Linked DNA regions of Homo sapiens: all the other regions are linked to region 4. Evidence: promoter capture Hi-C in 16 types of primary human blood cells and fetal thymus (Javierre and others, 2016). All regions are on one chromosome and are shown on one strand. Each heading gives the region's core, a stretch centred on a gene start or on the middle of the fragment in contact. The rest is flanking DNA. Distances are from core to core; before and after follow the strand shown. Region 1 holds the start of PILRA (paired immunoglobin like type 2 receptor alpha). Region 2 overlaps PPP1R35-AS1 (PPP1R35 antisense RNA 1). Region 3 holds the start of POP7 (POP7 ribonuclease P/MRP subunit). Region 4 holds the start of SAP25 (Sin3A associated protein 25).

Region 1 (6,582 bases), core at 3,610-6,109, 200 kb before region 4:
AGCCACAACCCCAGCCAGCTGAGTGCTGGGCCTCCCCAAGGGAGTGGGGAGTACAGGTGCGGGCAGGGGACGGGTTTGGAAATCAGGGACTGTGCTGCTAAGAACCCCACAAGCCCAGCCTGCCACAAATTCTCCTGAGTTTTTGCCACCTCCCACTTAAATCTGATCTCTGAAGCAACTGCCTCGCCTGCCTCACTAATAATCCTGGCCCTGCATCTAAAAACACTTCCCCTCCTGCAGGTAGCAGGGCGCCAAGCAGTGACTTCTGACCAACAGAGTGTGGGGAGAAGGGATGTGTATTAGCCCCGGAGGACGTGATGTGAGACCCGCTTGTGAGTCCTCCACACTCGTTCCCCATTGGCAAGATACATGGAGAGCACCCTGAGGACCTTTAAAAGGCAAAGCCGCAAGGCAGAAGGAGGCTGGGTCCCTGAATCACCGACTGGAGGAGAGTTACCTACAAGAGCCTTCATCCAGGAGCATCCACACTGCAATGATATAGGAATGAGGTCTGAACTCCACTGAATTAAACCACTGGCATTTGGGGGCTGTTTATTATAGCAGTGCAAAGAGTTCCTTTATCCTCCCCAAGGATGGAAAAATACAATTTATTTTGCTTACCATACACCCCTTTTCTCCTCGTCCACATTTTCCAATCTGTATGGTGGCTGTCTTCTATGGCAGAAGGTTTTGGGGAATAAATAGCGTGAAATGCTGCTGACACTTCCCTGTGCATCTCCCACATGGCTGCCAAGTGCCCCTTCCTGCTCTGCAGTACCTGAGTCCAGTCATGATGCAGGGAGCCTCCCCACTAGAAACAGATGGCACTCACAGATTTAAAGCAGTTGGAAGCAAGTTTAAGAAGGGAAATCTTTTTTTTTTTTTTTTTTTTTTTTTGAGACAGAGCCTCACTCTCATCACCCAGGCTGGAGTGCAGTGGCGCAATCTCTGCTCACTGCAACCTCTGCCTCCTGGGTTCAAGCCATTCTCATGCCTCAGCCTCCCAAGTAGTTGGGATTACAGGCGTGCACCCCCACACTCAGCTAATGTTTGTATTTTTTAGTGGTACTGGAGTTTCACCAAGTTGTCCAGGCTGGTCTCAAACTCCTGGGCTCAAGCAATCCTCCAGCCTCAGTCTCCCAAATAGCTGCAATTACAGGCGTGAGCCACCATGCCTGGCTGAGAGGGAATCGTTAAGAAGGAGTGGGCAGGGGCAAGAACACTGTCAGAGACAGTGTGTTGGCCACGGCTACTACAGCAAATTGGCTGCTTCCTGTGATCGCACGGGTTGAGGGCTCAGTTCCACAAGGCTGCCCCAGCATCAGATGCCAGTCGCAAGCTCACGTGGTGCCTGTGCTTCTGACACAGGGCTATAAAAATTGAGGTTCCCATGATCCCCTCCTTGGGTTCAATTAATTTTCTAGAATGGTACCTAGAACTCAGGGAAGCCCTTTACTTACATGTGTCCCCTTATAAAGGATATTATAGGGCCTGGCGCCATGGCTCATGCCTGTAATCTCTGTGCTTCAGGAGGTTGAGGGGGGAGGTTCACTTGAGCACAGGAGTTTGAGACCAACCTGGGCAACATAGCGAGACCCCGTCTCAAAATAAAGATATAGGATATTACAAAGGATAGTTATGAACAGCCAGATATAAGAGATACACAGAGGGAGGCCTGGGGGAAGGGGTGCAAAGCTTCCGTGTCTTCTCTAGGCACTGCACCCTCTAGGAAGCTCCATGAGTTCAGTTATCCAGAAGCCCTCTGCATCCCTTTTGGGTTTTTATGGGCTTCATTATAAAGGCATGATTGGGCCAGGCACAGTGGCTCATGACTGTAATCCCAGCACATTTTGAGGCTGAGGTGGGAGAATCAATTGAGCCCTCAGGTGGCAACTGAGGCTGCAGTGAGTTGTGATTGCACCACTGTACTCCAGCCTGGGTGACAGAGAGAGAGCCTGTCTCAAAAAAAAAAGACAAAACAAAAAACCTGGCCAATACGGTGAAACCCCATCTCTACTGAAAATGATCGTCACCTGATCCCCACCCCTTGAAGATGCCTCCACCCTCTCCATACGCATTTGGTCAGCACTAACTGCCCTGGGTGACAGGCACACTGCACTGGGTGACAAGGACCCAAAGCTACACCAGCCAGTGCCCCAGCCCTCAAGCACCTCCCTGTGCAGAAGGAAGACAACACAGAAAAGGGAAGCATGGTTGTCACAGAGGCCCAGAGGACTGCTGGCTGATGTCACTGAATGGGGAAGTGGTTGGCCGCACAGGCCCCAAGCTCAGACCTGATGCCACAGTGGACGTTCCTGGGCCATGTGACCTCAGGCTAGGCTCAGAACCACCCTCAGGGCCTCCGTTTCTTTCTGTATAAATTGAGGACCATACAGAGATGCTGCCTACCTCCTGGGATTGTCCAGAGAGTTAAAAGCTCTTTTAAAATGCGCCTGCTGGGCCAGGCACAGTGTCTCACACCTGTAATCCCAGCACTTTGGGAGGCTGAGGCAGGCAGATCACAAGGTCAGGAGGTCGAGACCAGCCTGAACAACATAGCAAAGCTCCATCTCTACTAAAAATACAAAAAGTAGCCGGGCGGGCATGGTGGCACGTGCCTGTAATCCCAGCTACTCAGGAGGCTGAGGCAGGAGAATCACTTGAACTCAGGAAGTGGAAGTTGCAGTGAGCCGAGATTGTACCATTGCACTCCAGCCTGGGTGACAGAGCGAGACTCCGTCTCAAAAAATAAAAATAAATCAAATGCACCTGCTGGCAGGGCGCGGTGGTTCATGCCTGTAATCTCAGCAACTTTGGGAGGCCTAGGCAGGTGGATCACCTGAGGTAAGGAGTTCAAGACCAGCCTGGCCAACATGGTGAAACCCCATCTCTGCTAAAACTACAAAAATTAGGTGAGCATAGTGGTGGGCACCTGTAGTCCCAGTTACTCGGGAGGCTGAGGCAGGAGAATCGCTTGAACCTGGGAGGCAGAGGTTGCAGTGAGCCGAGATGGTGCCACTGCACTGCAGCCTGGGCGACAGAGTGAGACTCCGTCTCAAAATAATAATAATAATAAAACAAAATGCACCTGCCATTTCTTTCCATCAGGTATGGCCATGGAAATGAGGGTCATAAGGGAAGCAGTGTATCCTCACAGATCCCCAGAAACGAGAGACACAGCCATGCAGGGCCACTTGGGAAAGCACCAGGGTCCCTCAGGGAGTAGAGGAAGCCAAGGGAACACAGGGGTGAGACCCTTTGTTATGCTTTCCCTGGAAAAGGCAAGGAAGGGTATGCAGGTTTAGGATTGGCTAGTTAGAATAACGTTAGCAGGCTCTGGGGATTAGAGGCTGTCATTTGTTATTTGGTGTCTGGCCCAGGATGATGAAGGCAGAGAAATACTGCCTTCTGAAGGGTGAGAGGCAGCTAGAAGAGCTGGTTCAGTGTTGGGGCCCTGGATTAGCTGGTTTGCATATGAAAGGCACACTCAGCCAGGAGCCGTGGCTCAAGCCTGTAATCCCAGCACTTTGGGAGGCCGAGGTGGGCAGATCACAAGGTCAGGAGATGGAGACCATCTTGGCCAACGTGGTGAAACCCCGTCTCTATTAAAAATACAAAAATTAGTTGGGCATGGTGGCACGCACTTGTAATCCCAGCAACTTGGGAGGCTGAGGCAGGAGAATCGCTTGAACCCAGGGGTGGAGGTTGCAGTGAGCCGAGACCGTGCCACTGCACTCCAGCCTGGCAGCAGAGTGAGACTGTTTCAGAAAAAAAAAGGGACACTCTCAGAGGGGTCATTTGCTAGCTCTAACAACTGGCTGGCTCTGGCAGGGGCAGTCCCTCTCTCTGCTCTTGGAGGTCCAAGATGCCAGAATATCAGCAATCCAGTGGGGCTTGGTGAGGTGGCTCACACCTGTCATCCCAGCACTGAGGGAGGCCGAGGCAGGAGGATTGCTTAAGCCCAGGAACTTGAGACCAGCCTAGACAACATAGTGAGACCCCATCTCTCAAAAAAAAAAAAAAATTAGCCGTGTGTGGTGGTGTGTGCCTGTGGTCTTCACTACTTGGGAGGCTGAGGTCAGCAAATTGCTTCAGCCCAGGAGTGATGGTGATCGCGTCCCTACACTCCAGTCTGTGGACACTCTAGTACCTTGAGGACAGTACAGCCTGATTACAGAAGCTTTACAGCAAGTCTTGAAGTCAGGTATTATAAATCTTCCACCTTCATTCTTCATTTGTAAAGGCCTTTTGGCTATTCTAGGTCCTTTGAATTACTGTGAGAATATTACAGTTGGCTTGTGAACTCCACAAAGCCTATGGGATGTCGATTGGGATCAGAGGAAAGCAGGAACGGTGGGTGCCAAGGAGAGGTGAGGGGCTGGGGGCAGGGACGGATGTGGCCAGTGAGGACAGTAGGATACTTGTTGGGGGAATGTGGGGACATCCAAGCAGTGGTTCTCATAATGCGGTGCAGGGTACTTACCCCCTCCCTGCCCCTGCTCCCCACACACGACTTCCCACGCCTCTCCCATGAGCACCTGCACTAAGGGGCTGCATTTAGGCTCTGCCCACATTGGAATCATGCCCTCCTCCAGGCCCTCCTCCTCCTCTCAGAAGCCCTGTCTGTGAGAGAGCCACAGCCCCAGGCTCAGTCCCAGGTTCTGTCACTGCTGTTGGGGGAGGGAGGATGAACAAATCCAGGAGACCTCACACCATCCCAGAGCAGAAATCCTGACACAGAAGGAATCTCCCATGGGGGTTCAGCTGGATCCAGGGCCTGAAAGTGACATAAACATGCATGTTGCATCTAAGGAGACTGCACGTGGCAGCATTGGGCAGCATGTGCCCTCCAGAGCTACCCAGAGGCTGTTGGCTATAAGTTCTATGTGGCCCCCACATTGGACAGCCTGGTAAGCAGGTGACCTTTCAGCCAGGTCCTCAGGTGGGGCGGGCCACCCTCTCGAGGCCCTGCCCAGACAGCCAGGGGGTCCCTTGTCCTCTCTGCAGCCCATCTTTCCAGCTGTGACCAGTTCAGCCCAAAGCCCCCGTCCCTCAGTTTCCCTGTGGGTTGAATGGAGATAATGTGTCACCTCAGAATGTTGTGAAGCAGAGAATGAGGTGTTTAGGGCCTGGCTCAGACGGAGGGGTTTCCTGAGCATGGGGAACCTGTTTCCTCAGGCCTGTAAAGGGAGGGAGGGCGGGCCGGCCTGGCTGGCCCTGGGAAGCACAGAGGAGCCTACTAGGACCAGGGAAGAGACTAAGAGAAGGGAGGCCCGTCCCTGCCTGCTTCTGTCTCAAGAAGGCTGATGTCACTTCCTCTGATGAAATCCTGTCTTCCCCCACGGCCCCTCAACTGATGCCACCTCACCCTGGAGAGGGTGGGCAGAGCCTCCTACGGAGGGAGCCCTGTGCACCACCAAAGCTCCCTGCTCCAGTGACCACCCCCGGGCAAAGGCCGGCAGATCCCCGTTAGAGATGGGCCCAGGACTGTGTGTGGGGTGGGTGTTGCTCTGAGCCTTCACTTTCTTCTGTGTCCAAGGAAGCTTCTGGATCAGCCAAGGGCTCAGGTGTGTGGAGGGAATGACCTGAGGGGCTGTATGAAGGGACAGCCTCCTGTCCTGCACTCAGAAGTTGAGGCCCAGAGATTCCACCCTTCAGCCAGGCCCAGACATCTGGGTTGAGGGGGCTCCAGTCCTGTACCCACTACTGCAAGTCACGTGGCCTGGGGCAGGGCTTCTCAGAGCCCTGTCCCCTCCTGTGTAGGGCGGGACGTCAGAGGGGAGCCTGCAGACCCAGTCTCATGTCTTGGGGGTCAAGGGGTGGCTTCCAGAAGGACCAGTCTCTGTGTAGGGGACCATTAGCCCCCTCACCCCTTGAGCAAGGTCGTGGTGCCTGCACCGAGAGAGGGCCTGGGGCAGGAAGAGGCCAGCTGGGTCGTGGTGGTGCCTGGGGACTGCATGGGAGCCCCTGCCAGGGAGGGAGAGGGACAGAGGACAAGCTGGGGGCTCTTCTGCTTGGGCTGGGGGCTGAGCACCTGTGACCTCCACCGGCTTCCTTCTCCTCCTCTCTGAGGACTGAATCTGGGGCGCAGAAGGACAGAGATTCAGGCCTGCCTTTCCTCTCCCTGAAAGAGCCTGCGCTGGCCCTGGGCAGAGAGAAGGATGAGAAGTGAGGCTGAGTGAGGTGGGGTCTGCAGGGATCCAGGTGGGAGGGGCCCAGCCAGCCAAGGTCAGGCCCAGCCCCCCAAGGTCAGGCCCAGCCCCTCGGCAGGAGGACGGGGACCGCGGCCTTTGGGCAGGGCTGACTTGGCACTGACCACAAGGGAGGCCCTTTTGCAATAGGGGAAAATAAGCCAGATGGATAAAGGAAGTGCTGGTCACCCTGGAGGTGCACTGGTTTGGGGAAGGCTCCTGGCCCCCACAGCCCTCTTCGGAGCCTGAGCCCGGCTCTCCTCACTCACCTCAACCCCCAGGCGGCCCCTCCACAGGGCCCCTCTCCTGCCTGGACGGCTCTGCTGGTCTCCCCGTCCCCTGGAGAAGAACAAGGCCATGGGTCGGCCCCTGCTGCTGCCCCTACTGCCCT
Region 2 (6,625 bases), core at 233-2,732, 130 kb before region 4:
GTTCGTGTCCATGAACCCAGTAAACGCAATTCCTCAGCCTTAAAATCTAGTCACTGACTCATTTCAGGCCCCAGCACAGACGAAAACAAGCCATTCTGTTTGCCCAGTTTACATTGCGGGTCTCCAAGAAGTGGAATGTTCACCAATGATTTTAAGAAAACAGGGCCTGGCGCGGTGGCTCACGCCTGTAATCCCAGCACTTTGGGAGGCCGAGGCAGGCAGATCACCTGAGGTTGGGAGTTTGAGATCAGCCTGACCAACATGGAGAAACCCCATTTCTACTAAAAATACAAAATTAGCCGGGTGTGGTGGTGCATGCTTGTAATCCCAGCTACTCAGGAGGCTGAGGCAGAATTGCCTGAAGCTGGGAGGCGGAGGTTGCAGTGAGCCAGAGATCGTGCCATTACATTCCAGCCTGGGCAACAAGAGCAAAACTCTGTCTCAAAATAATAATAATAATAATAATAATTAAAAAAAAAAAAACAGTACGAGTGTGAAGATCGGAAGGTGGAGGTGAGGGAGGTGAGAGGTCTTGGGCCTGCCCACATTCTTCCTAAGCTATTTTGGCTGGCCCAGGCTGGGAGGCCAGGAATTGCTTTTCCTCTTCAAAAGAAAAGGGGACAAAAAATTAGCTGGGCGTGGTAGCACTCATCTGTAGTCCCAGCTACTCAGGAGGCTGAGGCAGAAGAATTGCTTGAACCGGGGAGGCAGAGGTTGCAGTAAGCTGAGATTGTGCTGCTGCCCTCCAGCCTGGGTGACAGAGCGAGACTCGGTCTCAAAAAAAAAAAAAAAAAAAATGGGGAGGAGGACAGGGCATGGTGGTTCATGCCTATAATTCCAGCATTTTGGGAGGCCAAGGCAGGCAGATCACTTGAGGCCAGGAGTTCGAGACCAACCTGGGCAACACAGTGAAACCCTTTCTCTACTAAAACTACAAAAAATTACCTGGGCATGGCAGCACATGCCTGTAATTTCAGCTACTCGGGAGGCTGAGGCATGAGAATCACTTGAACCTGAGAGGGGGAGGTTGCAGTGAGCCAAGATGGCACCACTGCACTCCAGCCTGGGCAACAGCGTGAGACTCTGTCTCAAAAAAAAAAAAAAAAAAAAAAAATGGCTGGGACACCGTGACTCATGCCTGTAATTCCAGCACTTTGGGAGGCAGAGGCAGGAGGATCCCTGTGAGGCCAGGAGTTCAAGACCAGCCTGGGCAACATAGTGAGACCCAGTCTCTATAAAAAAATTAAAAATTAGCCAGGCGTGGTGGTGTATTCCTGTAGTCCCAGGTACCGGGGAGGTTGAGGTGGGAGGATCCCTTGAGCCCAGGACTTCGAGGCTGCAGTGAGCTATGATCACGCCACTGCACTCCAGCCTTGGCGACAGAGCAACACCCATCTCTTAAATATTATTTATTATAAGGCTTTTGGGCTGGGTGCTGTGGCTCACGCCTGTAATCCCAGCACTTTGGGAGGCCGAGGCGGGCGGATCACGAGGTCAGGAGATTAACACCATCCTGGCTAACACGGTGAAACCCTGTCTCTACTAAAAATACAAAAAATTAGCCGGGTGTGGTGGCATGCGCCTCTAGTCCCAGCTACTCAGTAGGCTGAGGCAGGAGTATGGCGTGAACCTGGGAGTCGGAGCTTGCAGTGAGCCGAGATCGCACCACTGCACTCCAGCCTGGGCAACAGAGCGAGACTCCGTCTCAAAAAAAAAAAAAAAAAGACTTTTGATTGGGTTAGACCTCACCAGTTAGAGATGCTCCTTTAGTTATCTGAGGCTGCTGAGTGGGGTAATCCTAGACCTGGATGCTAGTTTGAAGAAAGCAAGTCTCAGTGCTGGAAGGGGTCATTCAAGGTCATCCATGAGCTTCTGCTGAGCCAGGTGCTATAGGTGGGCTAGGTGGGACAGGAGACAGGTCAGCATCCAGGGTCCTTGAAGGGACCATGTCCTTAAGAAGAGGTAGGATGCCTCCAATGCAGTGGTCCACTGCACGGTGTGGCTGAGACTGCTACAGAGGACACATGGGAAGACCTGCCAGGGTTGGGGGTGGGGGAGGAGCAAGGGCGTCATCCTGGAAGTCACCCCCAAATAGGGCCAAGAAAGATCAGAGAGACAGCAAAGCTCTAATACCACCCTCTGCAAACCCCACCTATGGCGACCTCTCACCTCCTGTCTCCTATTCTCAAACTGGCCTATGCCTAAGGGCCAACCCAGAGACACTTCCACACTGGTCCCTGTCACACGAGACACGCTGGAAGATGGGAATGGCCAACCTCCAGACACACACACATCCAGGCTCCTATCCCCAGAGTGCGTGTTCTCATCCTACTGCATCTCGGAGGCTGGCAGGGTGAATCCCCCAGCAGGTCAGGTAGGTCTGAGGTGTCTCAGCCTGAACTCATGACTCCAAACCACCTTCACGCCTTCGTCCCAACCCAGAAGGAAGAGATCCAGGGAGGAGGGCACACATCGGGCTGCAGGCCAACACACTGACCCTGAGCCTGGCCTCCCCAGCATCAGGCTGAGGAACAGGAGGGTTGAGATGAGCCCCATTAGGTATGTGTGAAGTCTCTGGGACATGGGATGATGCCAGCTGCTGGGATGCAGAAAAGTTGGAGGCAGGGGACAGAGTCTCATTCAAAAGAATTTGTCCATAATCCAAGCTGGGTGTTGTGGCTCACGCCTATAATCCCAGCACTTTGGGAGGCCCAAGCAGATGGATCACTTGAGGTCAGGAGTTCAAGACCAGCCTGGCCAACATGCTGAAACCCCGTCTCTACTAAAAATATAAAAATTACCCGTATGTGGTAGCCCAGGCCTGTAATCCCAGTTACTTGGGAGGCTGAGGTGGGAGGATTGCTTGAACCCAGGAGGTGGAGGTTGCAGTGAGCCCAGATCATGCCACTGCACACCAGCCTGGGCAACAAAGCGAGCAAAGCGAGACTCCATTTCAAAAAAAAAAAAAAAAAATTTTAGCTGCGTGTGCTGGCACATGCCTGCAAATCCCAGCTACTCCGGAGGCTGAGGCATGAGAATCACTTGAACCTGGGAGGCAGAGGTTACAGTGAGCCGCCAGCAACTGTATCTCAAATAAATAAATAAATAAATAAGAATTTGTCTGGAATCTGGGTGAGGCAGAGGAAAATGAAAGAAACCAGAAAAGCAAAGATAAACAGATTTGCAGGGTGGGGTGGAGGATGGAGAATTCAATGGAGCTGAGCACAGCAAGGAGGAGAATGTTGGGCTGAAGGCCTGAGCTTGCTGGGGAGATGTCCTTGATGTCCACACTGGGCATAGAAGGTTGATTGATGCCAGTGGTTAGGGTCCCAAAGAGCCCAGGGACAGCTGGAGGTAGAAAGAAAGGGTGTGGAGGCACGGAAGATGGGCCCATAACCCAGGAAAAGGGAGCCACAGATAGGGGAAATGTATGCAGAAATCGCCACCCTCACTCTGGGAGGCAGGTCCCGACAGATCCCCTTAGCAGGGGACCAATGCCCAGGACCTTGGGGAGATGGTTGGGGACGGGGGAAGCAGCAGATGGTCTGTTACTCAATGAGCACACAGGAGATGTTGGGGGGTCTTGGGGTGGAGAGTGATTCCATGGAAGCCTCTGGATTGGACAAGGAGATGTTGGTGTGAGGTTTTTCCACAGTCCAAGAGAGGCGATTGGACAAGGAGATGTTGGTGTGAGGTTTTTCCACAGTCCAAGAGAGGCTGGTAGAAGAAAAGCAGGTTCTGCTATCAGGCCGGGTGCAGTGGCTCACACCTGTAATCTCAGCCCTTTGGGAGGCCCAGGTGGGAGCATCACATGAGGACAGGCATTCGAGAGCAGCCTGGGCAAGATGGTGAAACCCTGTCTCTACAATAAAAACACAAAAAAATTAGCCGGGTGTGGTGGTGTGCACCTGTAGTCCCAGCTACTCAGGAGGCTGAGACCGGAGGATCACTTGAGCCCAGGAGTTCAAGACCAGCCTGGGCTGGTCAAGACCCCATTTCTAAAAAAATTTAGCCAGGCATGGTGGTGTATGCCTGTAGTTCCAGCTACTTTGTTGGCTGAGGCAGGAGGGTCCCTTGAGCCCAGGAATTTGAGGCTGCGCTGAGCTATGATTGTGCCACTTCACTCCAGTCTGGGTGACAGAGCGAGACCCTGTCTCTAAAAATAAATAAATAAGCCAGGCGCAATGGCTCATGCTTGTAATCTCAGTACTTTGGAAGGCCAAGGCGGGAGGATCACTTGAGCCCAGAAGTTGGAGACCAGGCTGGGCAACATAGAAAGACCCCATCTCTACCAAAAATTTAAAAAATTATCTGGGTGTGATGGTGCACACTTATAGTCCCAGCTACTCAGGAGGCTGAGGTGGGAGGATCACTTGAGCCCAGGTCAAGGCTACAGTGAGTTATGATCACACCACGGCACTCCAGCCCGGGCAAAAAGCGAGACTGTCTCTAAACAAATAAATAAATAAAAAGCCATTTTTTTCACATATGAATGGACTCCTGGGAATGCAAGCTTGGAAATGGGGAGGCCGAAGCCCTTGCCTCTCTGCCTCCTCGCAGCCCTGGCCCGTCTCTCGTCTGTCTCCCTGGGTTTCAGTCCCAGCTCCAGTGCCTACTGACCATGTGACCTGGGGATCATTCCCTTTCCTCTGAGAGCCCCCCTCTTCCTCATCTGAACACTGAGGAAATGACTGGCCTCATATGGTTGCCAGAGCTCAGTTGGGGCCCTCAGAAGGTCGAGTCATTGTTTTTCAGGAGCTGATGAGATCATGGCACGTGTGCCATTGACCTCTGTCCTTCCTCCCTCCCCACCTTTGACTCAGCCTGTCCTCTCCTCCTCTGGACGACCTCTGGGACATCCTGCCCTTTTCCCGTGTTCATTGTTTCTGCAGCAGATGAGCAGGATGTCGGGGATGCTGGGAAATGAAAGGCCCCTGGTCTCTCTGCCGGTAGGCTCTGAGGCAGGGGGTTCAGACCCTCTCGCCTCGGGCTCCTGCTGGCTGGCCCCACACGTGCCCCCTCCAGCCCCAGCCCTGCTCAGTGGAGAAAACAGATAAGGCAGGAAATGTGGCCCCAGTTCTAGGAAGCTCAGAGTCCCAGGAGGCAGAAGACATGCCTCTCACCCGCTCACTGACACCTGCTATTTGCTGGGGCCTGGGAGTGGCATGGACAGCTCTGAGTGGGGCCAGCTTTCACCCTCCCAGGGTGCAGCATGAACTCTAACATCCAGGCCAGGCCAGGCTCCAGGAAAGAGGATGCAAAACTTCATGCAGCCTGTGCAGATTAAACACCAGCCCCAGCTCTGTGAAGGGTAGGTCAGCTCAGCCTGGAGGATGGGAAGGCTTCCTGGAGGAAGAAGCCCTTGAAGGAAGTAGGTGGAACAGAAACTTGCTGTTCTCCTCTCTGGGAGTCTGAGACTGCCCTTTCTTTTTTTTTGAGACAGAGTCTCACTGTGTCTCCCAGGCTAGAGTGCTGGAGTGCAGTGGCACAATCTCAGCTCACTGCAACCTCTGCTTCCCAGTTCAAGTGATTCTTCTGCCCCAGTCTCCCAAGTAGCTGGGACTATATAGGTGTACGCCACCACACCTAGTTAATTTATGTATTTTTATTAGAGACAGGGTTTCGCCAAGTTGGCCAGGCTGGTCTTGAACTCCTGACCTCAGGTGATCCGCCTGCCTCAGCCTCCCAAAATCCTGGGATTACAGGTGTGAGCCACCATGCCCAGACTGCCTGCCCCTTTCTGTCTCTGTCTCAGGCCAGTTCAGGTCTGAGCAGGGCAGTTTTGCTCAGCTTCACTGACCAGGTGAGTGTTGCTCACGATGCCCTCCAGACCCTTTGCCTTCCTCTAGATTTTTTTTTTTTCAAGTTTTATTTTTTTCTTGGAGACAGGGTCTCGCTCTGTCACCCAGGCTGGAGTGCAGTGGCACGATCATGGCTCACTGCAGCCTTGACCTCTGGGGATTAAGCGATCCTCCCACCTCAGCCTCCTGAGTAGCTTGGGACTACAGGCACATGCCACCACACCCAGGTAATTTTTTTTTTTTTTTTTTTTTTTTTGTAGAGGCAGGGTCTTGCCATGTTACCCGGGCTGGTCTCAAACTCCTGGGCTCAAGCAATCCTCTGACCTGGCCTTCCAAAATGCTGGGATTGCAGGCTGGGCCTGCCTTCCTCTAGAGGGCAATGGGTACCATAGCTCACACCTGTAATCCCAGCACTTAAGAGAGCCCAAGGAAGAAGGATCACTTGAGGCCAGGAGTTTGAAACCAGCCTGGGCAACATAGAGAGACTCTGTCTCTACAAAAATAAATAAATTAAATTAAATTTTAAAAAAGAGACTTAACCTCCCTGATGGGGCCCCACCAGCCTGGGTCATGACTCACCTCTGCTTCCCAGCAACCTCCTTCCTGATCCCCAAATCAGAATTCAGGAGGTCTAGGATGTAGTATGTGGCAATCTGTACAATTTCAGCAGTCACAGGAAACAAACACAGCTGAACCTCCCTGAGGGTCTTCCCCGAAACCTTCACCTTGGCAGTATCCCCATCTCTGGGGGGCTGGAATCAGAGGGTCTGGGGACCCACGAGGGAAGGATTTGGTCATGAAGGACTATCTTCCCCTGAGAGAGC
Region 3 (6,373 bases), core at 1,473-3,972, 130 kb after region 4:
TTCCAATTCAATCCCAATCTTGTGGTTAATGAAAGAATCTGAAGTAAAGGAAAGAACTATGGGATTGAAATGGGGTGCTGGGAGCAAATTTCTCTAGAATCTGAACTCTCTTCAACCTTTGATCAAATGGGGTCAGACTCCATCCTAGGGAACTGAGAAGGGCCTGGGAGACATAAATATGCCAACTCACCTGTGTAGGTTTACAGTTTACAACATTACCTTGGGTTTCACAACTCAACTGCAAGAAAGGAATTAGCATCCCCATTTTTTTTAAACCAGTGTTTTCATATCCTTTATTCCCAAGTCAGTGTATTTGTCAGTTTGAATGTTACATGTATGATAAAACAGATTATGAAAAGCATACTAACGAGAACATTATTTTATATAACTGATCATTGAATATGCAACCTCTTGCAACAATAACTTAATGGACCCAACTCTACCTTCTAAATGGACCAATTTTATGATTCTCCTAAAATGTTTTGAGTTGGGTATAGTTTCTTGTTGCTTCTTCCTGTGATCCAAAGCTTAAAAATGAGGCTGGGCACAATAGCTCAAGCCTGTCATCCCAGCACTTTAGGAGGCCAAGGTAGGAGGATCACTTGAGATCAGGAGTTTGAGACCAGCCTGGCCAACATGGTGAAACCCCATCTCTACTGAAAATACAAAAATTAGCCGGGCGTGGTGGTGCACACCTGTAATCCCAGCTACTCAGGAGGCTGAGGCAGGAGAATCGCTTTAACCTCAGAGGCAGAGGTTGCGGTAAGCTGAGATCGTGCCTCTGCACTCCAGCCTGGGCAACGGAGCGAGACTCCGTCTCAAAAAAAAAAAAAGGAATGAATCTCTGGAAACTAGCAATTAGAGCCAGACCTCCCTAGGACCAAGGAGACAGGAGTTGGAGAAAAAGACACTACAGGTGATGCCCACAGTCTCAAGCACTGTGGCATATGCTTGACCTCAGAGCATTCCAGTACTCAAGGTCAAGTGTGGCACCATCCGTATATCCTGTCATCGCAAATGCCCGCAACTGCTACAATTAACAGGATATGGGAGAGAGGAGGCACATCATGTGAGGAGGAATGAATCGCTCCCAACAATTATGTGAACATTTCGAAAATTTCTTTTTTTTTTTTTTTGAGATGGAGTCTGGCTCTGTCCCCCAGGCTGGAGTGCAGTGGCGCGATCTTGGCTCTCTGCAAGCTCCGCCTCGTGGGTTCACGCCATTCTCCTGCCTCAGCCTCCCGAGTAGCTGGGACTACAGGCGCCTGCCACCATGCCCGGCTAATTTTTTGTATTTTTAGTAGAGGCGGGGTTTCACCGTGTTAGCCAGGATGGTCTCGATCTCCTGACCTCGTGATCCGCTCGTCTCAGCCTCCCAAAGTGCTGGGATTACAGGCGTGAGCCACCGCGCCCGGCCAACATATCGAAAATTTCAATACCAAGGATTAACTTCTAAAATACAACTTTATATGCTAGTGCATGCCCGTAGTCCAAGCTGTTCAGGTGGCTGGGGCGGGAGAATTGCTTGAGCCCAGGAGTTCAGGGCTGCAGTGAGCCGTGTTAACGCCACTGCACTCCAGCCTGGGTGACAGAGTAAGGCCCTGTCTCAAAAAAATGAAATAAACTGGCCGGGTGCGGTGGCGTGCGCCTGTAATTCCAGCTACTCAAGAGGCTGAGGCACAAGAATCGTTTGAACCCGGTAGGCAGAGGTTGTAGTGAGCTGAGATCACACCACTGCAGTCCAGCCTGGGCCACAGAGACCCTGTCTCAAAAATAAATGCATGCAAGTTTGTAGACAGAAGCTATACAGCTAGCCATTCAATAAAATGCATGTGCAATATGGTGGAGCTGTTGTGAACATCCCCATTTGAATGCTGGGCAAACAGAGTAGTTCAAGGTCCCCAGTGCAGCAGGTCCTACTCATTTCAGAAGGGAACTCTGCAGAAACTATGCCCATCTGGGCAGAGCCCCCACTCCACTGGCCTGAGAGCCACGAATCCGGCGCGCGTCCTCCCCACCTTGCCCGCCAGGGGGCGGCAAGTCCCTGATCCGGGGTCGCCTGCTGCAGAGCTGGTGGGAGATGGTTGAGGGGCGTGGGTGGGTCAGCGTTCCTTGGGGACCCGTGAAGCCTGGGCTTAGGGCTCACAGCGTGGGTCCCCAGCACAGACAGGAGGCGGACAGCTTCCCGTGAACTGCAGGGGAGTCCCGGGACGCTGTCCTCCAGCGAGGTGGGGACCGGCTATGTCCCTCAGTTCCCCCTCGGTCCTCGGGCCACAGGGACATTAGACTAGGGGGTCAGTTCTGCCAGCCCTGCCCAGGCCTCTTCTGACCAGAGGAGCTGCGACGGACGCGGAGTTCAGGCCCCTTGGCGACCGCGGTCTCCTGAACTCGGCCCCTTCCCTGCTCCCATGGGGAAGAACCCTGCCCCTAGAACAGCCTCCCCTCCAGGTGTCTTCCCTACGCTACCCCTCCGCCGGCCGGGAACTCCGCCAGGCCTAGAGACGCCGACCCGGCCCTTTCTAGCTCCTCCCCGGCTCGGACCTGGTTCCCGCCCTCGGCCGCCCGCCAGTTCCCGAGGCGTACACGTGTAGATCCCGTCACGCCCGGAAGTCTCGCGTTTCTCAAACGCCTCGCGCAGTCGCCCTTGCGCTCAGGGAAGGGGCGGGGCGAACGGAAGCCGGGAAGGCGATTCATAGCTCGCGGGGTACGGGCGCGCGTGCGCACTCCGCAGCCCGTTCAGGACCCCGGCGCGGGCAGGGCGCCCACGAGCTGGCTGGCTGCTTGCACCCACATCCTTCTTTCTCTGGGACCTGGGGTCGCGGTTACTTGGGCTGGCCGGCGAACCCTTGAGTGGCCTGGCGGGGAGCGGGCCTCGCGCGCCTGGAGGGCCCTGTGGAACGAAGAGAGTAAGCACGGGAGGGGCGGCGGAGGGGCGCGAGTTTGAGGGCGACGCGATGAATGAATCGGAACGGGGGGTGGGGAGACGCGGGATCTGGAGGTGAGTGGGAGAGGACGAGGGGCCGGAAGGAAACAGGGACATCGAGTGTGTCCCTTCTCGGGTGCACCCTTTATTTTTGTTTTTGTTTTTGTTTGAGACAGAGGCTTGCTCTGTTTCCCAAGCTAGAGTGCAGTGGCGGGCGCGATCACGGCTCACTGTAGCCTCGAACTCCCGATCTCAAGCGATCCTCCCCCCTCGGCCCGGGTAATTAAAAAAATTTTTCTTAAGACAGGGTCTTGCTATGTTGCCCAGGCTGATCTCAAACACCCGGGCTCCAGTGATCCTCCCGCCTCGACCTTCCAAAGTGCTGAGGTTACAGGCGTGAGCCACTGCCCGGCCAGGTGCACCCTTTGTACAGGAAAAGGGGTAGGAAAGGCTTCGAGGTCCCTCTGAGCCCTCTGATCGCGTCCCTTTCCCACGCCAGGGCACACAGCATGGCAGAAAACCGAGAGCCCCGCGGTGCTGTGGAGGCTGAACTGGATCCAGTGGAATACACCCTTAGGAAAAGGCTTCCCAGCCGCCTGCCCCGGAGACCCAATGACATTTATGTCAACATGAAGACGGACTTTAAGGCCCAGCTGGCCCGCTGCCAGAAGCTGCTGGACGGAGGGGCCCGGGGTCAGAACGCGTGCTCTGAGATCTACATTCACGGCTTGGGCCTGGCCATCAACCGCGCCATCAACATCGCGCTGCAGCTGCAGGCGGGCAGCTTCGGGTCCTTGCAGGTGGCTGCCAATACCTCCACCGTGGAGCTTGTTGATGAGCTGGAGCCAGAGACCGACACACGGGAGCCACTGACTCGGATCCGCAACAACTCAGCCATCCACATCCGAGTCTTCAGGGTCACACCCAAGTAATTGAAAAGACACTCCTCCACTTATCCCCTCCGTGATATGGCTCTTCGCATGCTGAGTACTGGACCTCGGACCAGAGCCATGTAAGAAAAGGCCTGTTCCCTGGAAGCCCAAAGGACTCTGCATTGAGGGTGGGGGTAATTGTCTCTTGGTGGGCCCAGTTAGTGGGCCTTCCTGAGTGTGTGTATGCGGTCTGTAACTATTGCCATATAAATAAAAAATCCTGTTGCACTAGTGTCCTGCCATCCCACTGCCACTGATTCTTTCCTGTGTAAATTCTGTGTGTGCCTGAATAGGGATGGTAGGAAACGCTACAGGTATCTAGGTGAAAGGGGAACCCAAGTGTTTCTTGCCTCTATAGAGAGCATAGATTATGCTATGAGCAGTGTAACAAAACAGTACAGTGCAGAAACCCAGTCATCCCAATGTTTGTTTGTTTGTTTGTTTTTTGAGACAGAGTCTCACTCTGTCACCCAGGCTGGAGTGCAGTGGTGCAATCTTGGCTCACTGCAAGCTCCACCTCCTGAGTTCACGCCATTCTCCTGCCTCAGCCTCCTGAGTAGCTGGGACTACAGGTGCCTGCCACCACACCCTGGCTAATTTTTTTGTATTTTTAGTAGAGACAGGGTTTCAGCGTGTTAGCAGGGATGTTCTCGATCTCCTGACCTTGTGATCCACCCATCTCGGCCTCCCAAAGTGCTAGGATTACAGGCGTGAGCCACCGTGCCCAGCCCCAATGTTTGTTTTAAAGATTTTCGTCTTCTAGTTGGGTGCAGTGGCTCCAGCCTGTAGTCTGAGCTACTGGCGGAGGCTGAGGCGGAAAGAGTGCTTGAGCCTGGGAGTTTGAAGGTGCAGTGAGTTATGATCATGCCACCTGCACTCCAATCTAGATGACATACTGAGACCTAGTCTATGCAAAAAAACCACTTTTTTTTTTTTTCTGAGATGAAGTCTTGCTCTGTCACCCAGGCTGGAGTACAGTGGTGCCATCTTGGCTCACTGCAACGTTCGGCTCCTGGGTTCAAGTGATTCTCCTGCTTCATCCTCCCCAGTAGCTGGAATTACAGGTGAGTGCCACCACGCCCAGCTAATTATTTTTGTATTTTTTTAGTGGAAACACCATGTTGGCCAGGCTGTTCTCGAACTCCTGACCTCAAGTGATCTGCCCGCCTTGGCCTCCCAAATGCAAAAAATTTTTGAAAACTAGATGGGTGTAGTGGTTTGCACCTATAATCCCAGCTACCTCGTTAGCTGAGGCAGGAGGATCGCTTGAGCCCAGGAGTTCAAGGCTGCAGTGAGCTGTGATCACCGCACTACACTCCTCCAGCCTTGCTGACACAGCAAGACCGTATCTCAAAAAAAAAAAAAAAAAAAAAAAGGAAGCAAACTAAGACTTCAGGACCTTCTTAGTGTCAGGCTCCATGGTAGGGACTGACAAGTGGCTTCATTTAATTCCTGGACCTGCAGGGCCTACCTAGATGATACCCGGGCTTTCAGGTGCAGAGCCCTTCAGACCCTTTTTTTTTTTTTTTTTTTTTTTTGAGACAGCTTCACTCTGTCATCCAGGCTGGAGTGCAGTGGTGCGATCTCAGCTCACTGCAACCTCTGCCTCCTGGGTTCAAGGGATTCTTCTGCCTCAGCCTCCTGAGTAGCCGGGACTATAGGCATCCATCACCATGCCCTGCAATTTTTTGTATTTTTAGTAGAGAAGGGGTTTCACCATGTCAGCCAGGCTGGTCTCAAACTTCTGACCTGAAGCGTTCTGCCTGCCTTGGCCACCCAAAGTGCTGGGATTACAGGCATGAGCCACTGCGCCCGGCCTTCAGACCCTTCTCACTGGGCTGCTCCAGTGGCGAAGGAACCCCTCACTCCAAATAATTACTGGGCACACAGGTAATACTTTCTGTTTGGATATTTGTGGGATGACCTGATTTTTCATATTTATCAAACTAAAGTCAACTAAAGCAATGTTTATCAAAGCGGGTTGTGACCCATTTGTGGGTCACAGCTTCTTAAAAAAAGAAAAAGCCAGGCGCGGTGGCTCACGCCTGTAATCCCAGCACTTTGGGAGGCTGAGGCGGGCAGATCACGAGGTCCAGAGATCAAGACCATCCTGGCTAACATGGTGAAACCCTGTCTCTACTAAAAATACAAAAAATTAGCCAGGCGTGGTGGCACATGCCTGTAGTTCCAGCTACTCTAGAGGCTGAGGCAGGAGAATCGCTTGAACCAGGGAGGCGGAGGTTGCAGAGAGCCGAGATTGTGCCACTGCACTCCAGCCTGGGCGACAGAGCGAGTCCGTCTCAAAAAACAAAAACAACAACAAAAAAAATAAGGCTGGGTGTGGTGGCTCACGCCTATAATCCCAGCACTTTGGGAGGCCGAGGCAGGTCAGTCTCTTGAGCGCAGGAGTTCGAGACCAGCCTAGGCAACATGGCGAAATCCCATCTCTACAAAAAATATAAAAAGTTATCTGGGCATGGTGGCACAAAACTGTGGTCCCAGCTACTTGGGAGGCTGA
Region 4 (6,735 bases), core at 26-2,525:
TAAGGACAGGGAGGGGAAAGAGCTCTCACCTGCTGGGGGGCCTTGGACAGGTACAGGGGAACACGCTGCCCCCGGGGCAGCAGAGGGTCCGAGAGGAAGACATCTTCACAGCACACCACCGGGAACCCTAGGAGGAAACACCACTAGGGTGGCGGGCTGCGGGCTCCCACCCCTGGGCACTGGTTCCCAGAGGAGTTGGGGCAGCCTTGCGCCCCCGGGGGACCAAGGGAGGTACCTGCATCTGGGGGCGCCTGCTGTCCATTCCAGTGCCCTGTGGCAGGGGCCACGGGCCTGAGACCCCTGCCCGAGGCTGCTTCATACAGCGGCCAGAATGAGGGGTGACACAGCGTCCGGCCTGAGAACGAGGCTCCTGAGCTACAGTTGGCCCCCTAGGGTGAGGAGGACAGAGCACTGGAGCCTCAGGCCACCGCACAGCTCCCTGAGCACCCCAGCCAGTCCCACAGGTTTGCCCCCAACTCACCCACACCGGCCGAGGTCCTGCTTTGGCTTCATACTTGGGGTCCCAGGGCGCTAGTGGAGTCATCCTCGAGGGGGCCACCTCCCAGGCCACCTGGGGGGAACGGGGATCTGGGGGGACGCTTGGGGATTATAACAGGCTCACAGTCAGTGAGAGGCTCTTAGGGGTAGTAGAGGCAGCAGGGCCTGTCCTACCTGGGGCTCCGGGGGGCTGCTCAGTGGCCGGGCCTGGCAGGTGGTGGGGCAGCAGCAGCTGCTCTCTCCAGATCCAGGAAGGGCTACGGGATGGGGGCTGTGGGCTGGAGGGGCAGGGACTGAGGCTGCAGCCACACCGCCCCCACGCACCCTCCCCTGGAGCCCAAGGGTGCCTGGTGCAAGGGAGACCGAGGGACCCAATCTCCAGCAGGGACAATGGAGAAGCCTCCGTAGAGCGCGTGGTGAAGGCATGGAGGCCCCCAGTCGCTGTCCCCCCACGGCTCCGTCCGAGCCCCTCACCTGTCCCATGGGGGTGTCCCCAGCTCCCTGGGGGCGTCCGCTCCGGCGCTCCAGGGCTCGCCCTGGTCCTTGCCCGCCGGAAGGCCTGGTCCCTCGGGCGCCTCCTCCGGGCCCGCGCCCCACCGCGGCGGCGACCAGGGCAACATTCCGCGTTCCCGAGCGCAGGACGGTACCGCCGTGTCCCCGCCGCCCGGCCCGGCCCTCTCAGCCTCCCTCCGCGGCGCGGCGCGAACGTGCCCTCCTGGCGAACCCACCCCAGAGGCCTCGCGGCGACGCTGGCGCCCTGTGCGTCTCCCGGCCACGTGGCGCGTGCCCCCGCCGGGCTCCCGCGGGCGCCCCCTGGCGACTGGGCGGTGAATTCCGGAAACAGAGGCCCCCCCAACAACCCCGCGACGCACGTGCTCTCAGACACAGTTACACCTGAGGGCCACCCAGAGGGCTTCTGGCTTCTGTTTATTGCGGCTGACACGACACCTGCGACACCCGCGGTCCTTCCACCCAGACCCTCGACCCCAGAGGCAGCCAGGCCGGCAGGCCAAGGGTGCCCAGGCCCAGGCCACCCTCACCACGTGCTTCTCTGAGAGCGCGGAGCCCAGGCGCGTCTTCTGCTCCCGGGGTCCCGGGCGGGGTGGGCCCTGTGCCCCCACCTTCACCCCTAAGGCCGGTCCAGCAGGGCGTGGACGACAGCAGCGATGTAGGGGAGGCCCCTTCCCGGGGCCCCCTCCTCTTCCAGGATGTGGTGGGGCTGGCACAGTGACTCCTGGGGGAAGGGGCCGGGTTAGCTTCCCCACGGTGCCCCCTGCGGCTTCCGGCCTGTGGCAGGGGGTCGGGGGCAGACCCGAGCATCACCGTGCGCTCGGGGCTCGGCGACAAATGAGACGCAAGAAAGCTGTCAGCGATAACAGAAGGGAGGTGACACGGGGGGTTGGCGGACGCTCCGGGAGCATGAGAGGCCGGCATCTCAGGAGGGAGATGCTGGTGGGCACAGAGCCATGGCCACAGCCACCAACACGCGGAGCAGACGCGCGCGCGCGCGCACACACACACACACAGGCAGGGCGGCCACGGTCTGTACAGTTTATACACAGAGATAGGGACCCGGCCTGGGCCCCGAACCCCTACAAATATAGATCCTCTCTACAAAATAGAGATAATTTAGCCCCCCCATAGCAGCTGTTGGGGGGGGAAGGGGAGGGCACAGGAGGAAGGGGGAGACTCCAGCTCCTGCCACCCCTCACGGGGTACAGAGGGCAGGGGCAGGGCCGGCGGGGACATGAAGGCACCGTCAGCACTGAGAGGTGGGGACTCGTGGGGCTACTGGAGGGAGGCCAGAGGCTGGGGGCCCAGGGTCTGGGGGCACCAGAGTGGGGCCTCTGAGGTCAGTGTCTGTGAAGGGGGTGCACTAGTGTCTTTGGTTGGGGCTGAAGGCACCGCAGGTGGGGTCGGGTGGAGCAGGGACCTTATAAATAGAGAGGAAGGGAAAGGGGTGAGGGAGGGCCGATTTTGGGGCCTAGGAACCCAGGAGCCGAGTGTAGGTGACATAGAGCAGCAGCATGAGGACCACGTAGAAGACGACGAAGCCGCCCAGACCAGAGGGGGGCCAGAGGGGCGGTAGGGCCTTGCCCCCCACCCGCTTCACGGCCTCCAGCGCGGTCCGCAGCCCCCGGGCAGTGCCCTGGAGGAGATCCGAGGGCGAGCACAGGTCAGCCTGGGGGAGAGGAGAGCAGGTGGACAAGGACAAGGGACAGACGTCAGCAGCAGCAGCAGGACAGTCCCTCCCACCCCTGCCCTCACGTGCTGGGGCCAGAACCACGCCCACATGCTGACGTGCTGGGCAGGGGGAGTGCAGTGCAGGAGGAGTGCAGGGCAGGGCATGTGCAGGACAGGTGACATGCAGGACAAGATGGGGCCTGCAGGGCAGGGGATGTGTAGGACAGGTGACATGCAGGGCAGGGGGCATGCAGGGCAGGGGGCATGCTGGGCAGGGCAGGGGCAGCCTGTGCCTTCATCTGAGAGCAGACATCCGCTGCAAATGGAAGCCCACCATCCATGCCACATGCTCGGCTGAGTCCGGCATGCCACCACTCTTTAGAAAGCAGCCCCCATACCTCAGGCACCCCCATTTTTCGACAGGCTTCTAGAAAACTCTCCACATTCTTCCGAGCCTTGAGGGCACTGAGTTTTGGCTGGGGTGGGTGAAAGAAGAAAATGTGGTAAGGGAGAGGCCACAGGCGCCCCGGCCCATCCCCCACCTCTTCCCCAGCCCCAACTGACCACAGCAGGGGAGGGCACATGGATGAAGGGCACGGAGCGCGGCCGTAGCTGGTTGGCCAGCTGGCACAGGATGACCCCACTGGCCAGAGCCTCGGCCAGGTCCTCAGGCAGGGGCCGCTGCAGCCGGGACTCAAGGACCTGGCAGTGTAGACCACATAGAGCAGGGGTCAGGGAAGGAGAGGCGTCTGGGAGGCAGGGAGAGTGGGGGGCTCAGGGCTAGCAGGGAACTTGTGCCTGTCCCTTCCTGTCCTCAGGGGAGGTGCCAGAGTGGGCACAGAGGATGTGGAGGGAGGCTGGTCCCAAGGACAGCAACACAAGGAGGTGCCCGGCCCAGGCCCCTGCCCACGCAGCTCCCGCCTCTGCTCACCTGGCGCAGCTGAGTCATTAAGTCCTTCTCATCTGGAACCTGGGGGTACCGCCGAGGTCTCAGGACAGAGTCTGGTGAGGAAGGGCCTAGGAGAAAAAGGGGGGCATGGGGCTGCCTCCACTGCTCACCACTGACTCTGTAGCTGGGTCCCAGTGGCCTGGCACCTACACCTCCTGCCTCTCTGCTTGTGGGATTTTTTTTTATTTCATGGAGATGGGGTCTCGCTATGTTGCCCAGGCTGGTCTTGAATTCCTGGGCTCAAGCGATCCTCCCACCTGGGCCTCCTAAAGTGCTGCGATTACAGGTGTGAGCCACCACACCCGGCTTGCTTGTGGGATTTTCAACGCAAAGGTACAAAAGGTACAACAGACCCAGAGGGCTCCCAGGGCAGAAGGGTGATGTAGCCGTTGGTGCTGGCAAGCACTGGGTCAGCACTGGGGAGGGCAGGACACCCACCTGAGCCACTCTGAGAGGAGGAACGGAAGAGGAAGCTGTTTGGTCTCTGAATGGAGCCAAGTGGCCGTGGAGCAGGTGCTGTCGCTGGGGCCGGAACCAGGGACACAGCGACAGGGGCAGGTGAGACAGGCATCCCCTCTGTGTCCCTCTCTCCCAACCAGCCCTCACCAACACAGGCCCCATCCTCCTCCCAAAATCCCTGTCCCACCTGGTCCAGCTATGGGAAGGGGCTCTTGGGAGGCAGGGGCAGGGGCGGGGGCTCCCTGCCCCGCTGCAGCCCCTGCTTGGGAGGCACTGGACTTAGGCGAGCCGCTGAGGAGAGACAGAAGGGAATTAGAGGGATGATGGTCATAGGAAGAGGAGTGGGGAGGGGATGCTGGCAGGAAACCTACTTGTGCATGGCTTGAGTGGACACGGCGGCGGCCCCTCCCACAACAGCCCTGAGCCCTGGCTTCAAGAGGCTGGAACAAGGAGAGGTGGGGTCAGCTAGCCCCAAGGCAGAACGGCTCAGCGGGGCTCGGTGGCCCCATTTCCAGGGCTCAGTGTCCAGCAACAGCCCCGGGCGGCCCTGGGTCCCACCTATCCTTCCTCGGGGCCCCCCACGCCCCGCTCTGCTGCTGCTGCCGCCGTTCCCGCTCCTGCCACAGCTGCAAGGTGTCCGGGCGCCGCCGCTCCTCCCCTGCCGGCTCCTCCCGCCTGAGGGACCAAGACAGGGCAAGAGGGGCAGACCCCGGGGTCAGGGAAGGAGGCGGTTGGGGGGTGGGAGGATCGGGCAGTGGCGTCAGTTTGGGGGCTTGGGGTACCTGCTGCTTGGTGCCCTCTCCCTGTCCCCTGCCCCAGGGCTTAATTCGGGTGGTCGCTGCTCCTAAGGAGAGAACAGCAGAGCAGCTGAGGGCAGGCCTGTGCCCACGCCTGCCCTGTCCCCTCCTCCAGCTCCCCTCCCTTGGGAGAGGCATAGCTGGGCTCTCACCTCCACAGTGCCTCGCTCTTCATCCTCCCCGGGGACATGGCTGTCGATGAAGTCAATCTGCACAGGGTCTCCGTCCGCTGGGGAGGCCAGCATGTCAGCAAGTGAGCGGGGACCCAGGCCCTGGTCCAGCCCAGCTCCCGGCCAGCCCTGCTACTCACCTGAGCCATCCTCCTTGCGTTCTCTGGGTCCCCGGGGCTCCCGGGCCAGCTCTGAGATCCGGAATGACAGCTCTGAAAATTCATCTGTTGACTGTAAAGGCAGAGGCAGAGATGGGAGATGGCCTCTCTGTACATGGGGGCTCAGGACCTGGGGGGTCCTGTGTGGGACTAAGCTCAGGGTCTCTGCTGAGCCAGCCCTTCCCTGGGATGCTGGGCAGAGGGAAGGAAGAGGACAGCTCCAGCCTCTGCCTGGCACCCTGCAATTTGGAGGTCCCCAGTTCAGAGGTGCTCTCCCAGGGCTGACACCCTCAATCACCCATGGACAGGACGCCCTTACCTCATTTCCAGACCACCTCTTGCTGCCACTATCAACGCTGTGGAAGCCTGAGTCCAGCCCACCATCGTACCGATGTCCCGGAAATAGATCCTCTGCAGGGCTGGGGCCAGCCAGGCGGATCTGGTCAGCCTGATGCTGGACAACAGCCCCCCATCCTCCTGCCAGAAAGCAGGGGGTGCCTGGGGCCGGGAAGGGGCATTCAGTATCCCAGGGCTTCCTTCCTCCCCACCTAGGACTTACCAGGGACTGAAACTCGGGGGCCGAGAAGGGGCCAGGTCCCCCAGGGCCGACCCACGCTGCCCGGCCTCTGTGGACAAATACTTGAAGATGTGAAGTTTCCCCTTCAGGCAGACCTGTGTGCGGGGCAGCACACGCCAGGGAGTTGGCAGGGAGGGCAGCTCCCCGGATCCTGCTCAGCTATCCAAGGGGACCAACCCCACTCCTGCCTAGCCACACCCCTGTCCTCGTGGCCCCCCAGGCACCCGCCTCACCTGGGCAGGTGGACTCTGCAGAGGGTTGCTGTCCAGCAGAATGACCTGCAGGTGCCTCAGGCGGCAGAAGGAGACTGGGATTCGGGAGACGCGGTTACAGGAGAAATCCAGGCGGACCAGAGGGAGGTCCCCCAGCTCTGGAACAGGTGGGCAAGGGAAAAGTCAGGAACATGCTCAGGGCTGTGGCCTCGTGCTCACTCCCTCACCCTTGGCTCCAGCTGGCCAGTCACCCTGGGCCCAGCACAGCCTCTCCCCTGGGTGGCTCAAGTCATTCCCCGGGAGAAACCTCCCTGCTCCTCTCTCCACATGATTCTGGTCCACGGTCTAAGCGAGCCTCCCTGAGAGGGCCCATCTGGACGTCAGCTCAGCTTCCCCGGGAAGGCCCATCCGGACGTCAGGTCCCGCCCAGCCCTGTCTGTCCTCCTCATCTCCTCGCCTGCCCACTCCACACTCGAACCCACCCTCCATTTTCAAATGATCAGCACAAGGCACAAACCCTGTTCAAACACCTCCTGTGACATGCAACCAGGGCTGCAGATGTTGAGCGGATTGTGGCCGCCCGGGAGTCCCCTTTCCCCAGCACGGGCCCAGCACTGCACCCTGCATGAAATGCTGCCTGCCCACAGGGAAAGGTGCCTTTTGCTCATCTTAAAAAGGCACAGTCTGGGACCGGCACGGTGGCTCACGCCTGTAATCCCAGCAATTTGGGA

The links. The method cuts DNA at HindIII sites, captures the fragments that hold promoters and counts their contacts. A CHiCAGO score of 5 or more calls a contact.
Region 1: a contact is called between a fragment that was not itself captured here and the fragment with the promoter of SAP25 in region 4, in 1 of 17 cell types (endothelial precursors). The highest score is 5.3, in endothelial precursors.
Region 2: a contact is called between a fragment that was not itself captured here and the fragment with the promoter of SAP25 in region 4, in 13 of 17 cell types (erythroblasts, naive CD4 T cells, total CD8 T cells and 10 more). The highest score is 13.0, in erythroblasts.
Region 3: the fragment with the promoter of POP7 here is called in contact with the fragment with the promoter of SAP25 in region 4 in 11 of 17 cell types (total CD8 T cells, neutrophils, naive B cells and 8 more); the score reaches 9.3 in total CD8 T cells.

The regions. Positions count from the first base shown.
Region 1 is chr7:100,367,109-100,373,690 of GRCh38, forward strand. It overlaps PILRB (paired immunoglobin like type 2 receptor beta), which reads left to right. Exons shown (of 4, transcript NM_178238.4): 4 at 241-723. The coding sequence ends at 269. It overlaps PILRA (paired immunoglobin like type 2 receptor alpha), which reads left to right and starts at 6,379. Exons shown (of 7, transcript NM_013439.3): 1 at 6,379-6,582. The coding sequence starts at 6,549. STAG3L5P-PVRIG2P-PILRB (STAG3L5P-PVRIG2P-PILRB readthrough) reads left to right here. Exons shown (of 17, transcript NR_036570.1): 17 at 241-723. RefSeq lists an enhancer at 3,296-4,047. The HindIII fragment of the contact is 1,363 bases long and covers 4,179-5,541 here.
Region 2 is chr7:100,439,833-100,446,457 of GRCh38, forward strand. PPP1R35-AS1 (PPP1R35 antisense RNA 1) reads left to right here. Exons shown (of 3, transcript NR_187540.1): 3 at 1-45. Among named protein-coding and RNA genes, the nearest start is that of PPP1R35-AS1, 6.5 kb to the left of the region's middle. RefSeq lists enhancers at 4,001-4,685, 4,686-5,370, 5,281-5,440 and a cis regulatory region at 4,486-5,339. The HindIII fragment of the contact is 6,057 bases long and covers 1-4,511 here.
Region 3 is chr7:100,703,399-100,709,771 of GRCh38, forward strand. POP7 (POP7 ribonuclease P/MRP subunit) reads left to right here and starts at 2,723. Exons shown (of 2, transcript NM_005837.3): 1 at 2,723-2,906; 2 at 3,423-4,088. The coding sequence starts at 3,433. The coding sequence ends at 3,855. RefSeq lists an enhancer at 2,062-2,331. The HindIII fragment of the contact is 8,002 bases long and covers 526-6,373 here.
Region 4 is chr7:100,572,625-100,579,359 of GRCh38, forward strand. SAP25 (Sin3A associated protein 25) reads right to left here and starts at 1,276. Exons shown (of 6, transcript NM_001348680.2): 1 at 973-1,276; 2 at 673-776; 3 at 482-588; 4 at 236-389; 5 at 30-127. The coding sequence starts at 1,118. LRCH4 (leucine rich repeats and calponin homology domain containing 4) reads right to left here. Exons shown (of 18, transcript NM_002319.5): 5 at 6,026-6,162; 6 at 5,775-5,887; 7 at 5,535-5,634; 8 at 5,198-5,288; 9 at 5,040-5,116; 10 at 4,873-4,934; 11 at 4,649-4,765; 12 at 4,462-4,530; 13 at 4,278-4,381; 14 at 4,070-4,153; 15 at 3,614-3,699; 16 at 3,247-3,384; 17 at 3,081-3,158; 18 at 1,387-2,680. The coding sequence ends at 2,483. RefSeq lists enhancers at 2,140-2,694, 2,695-3,248. The HindIII fragment of the contact is 23,848 bases long and covers 1-6,735 here.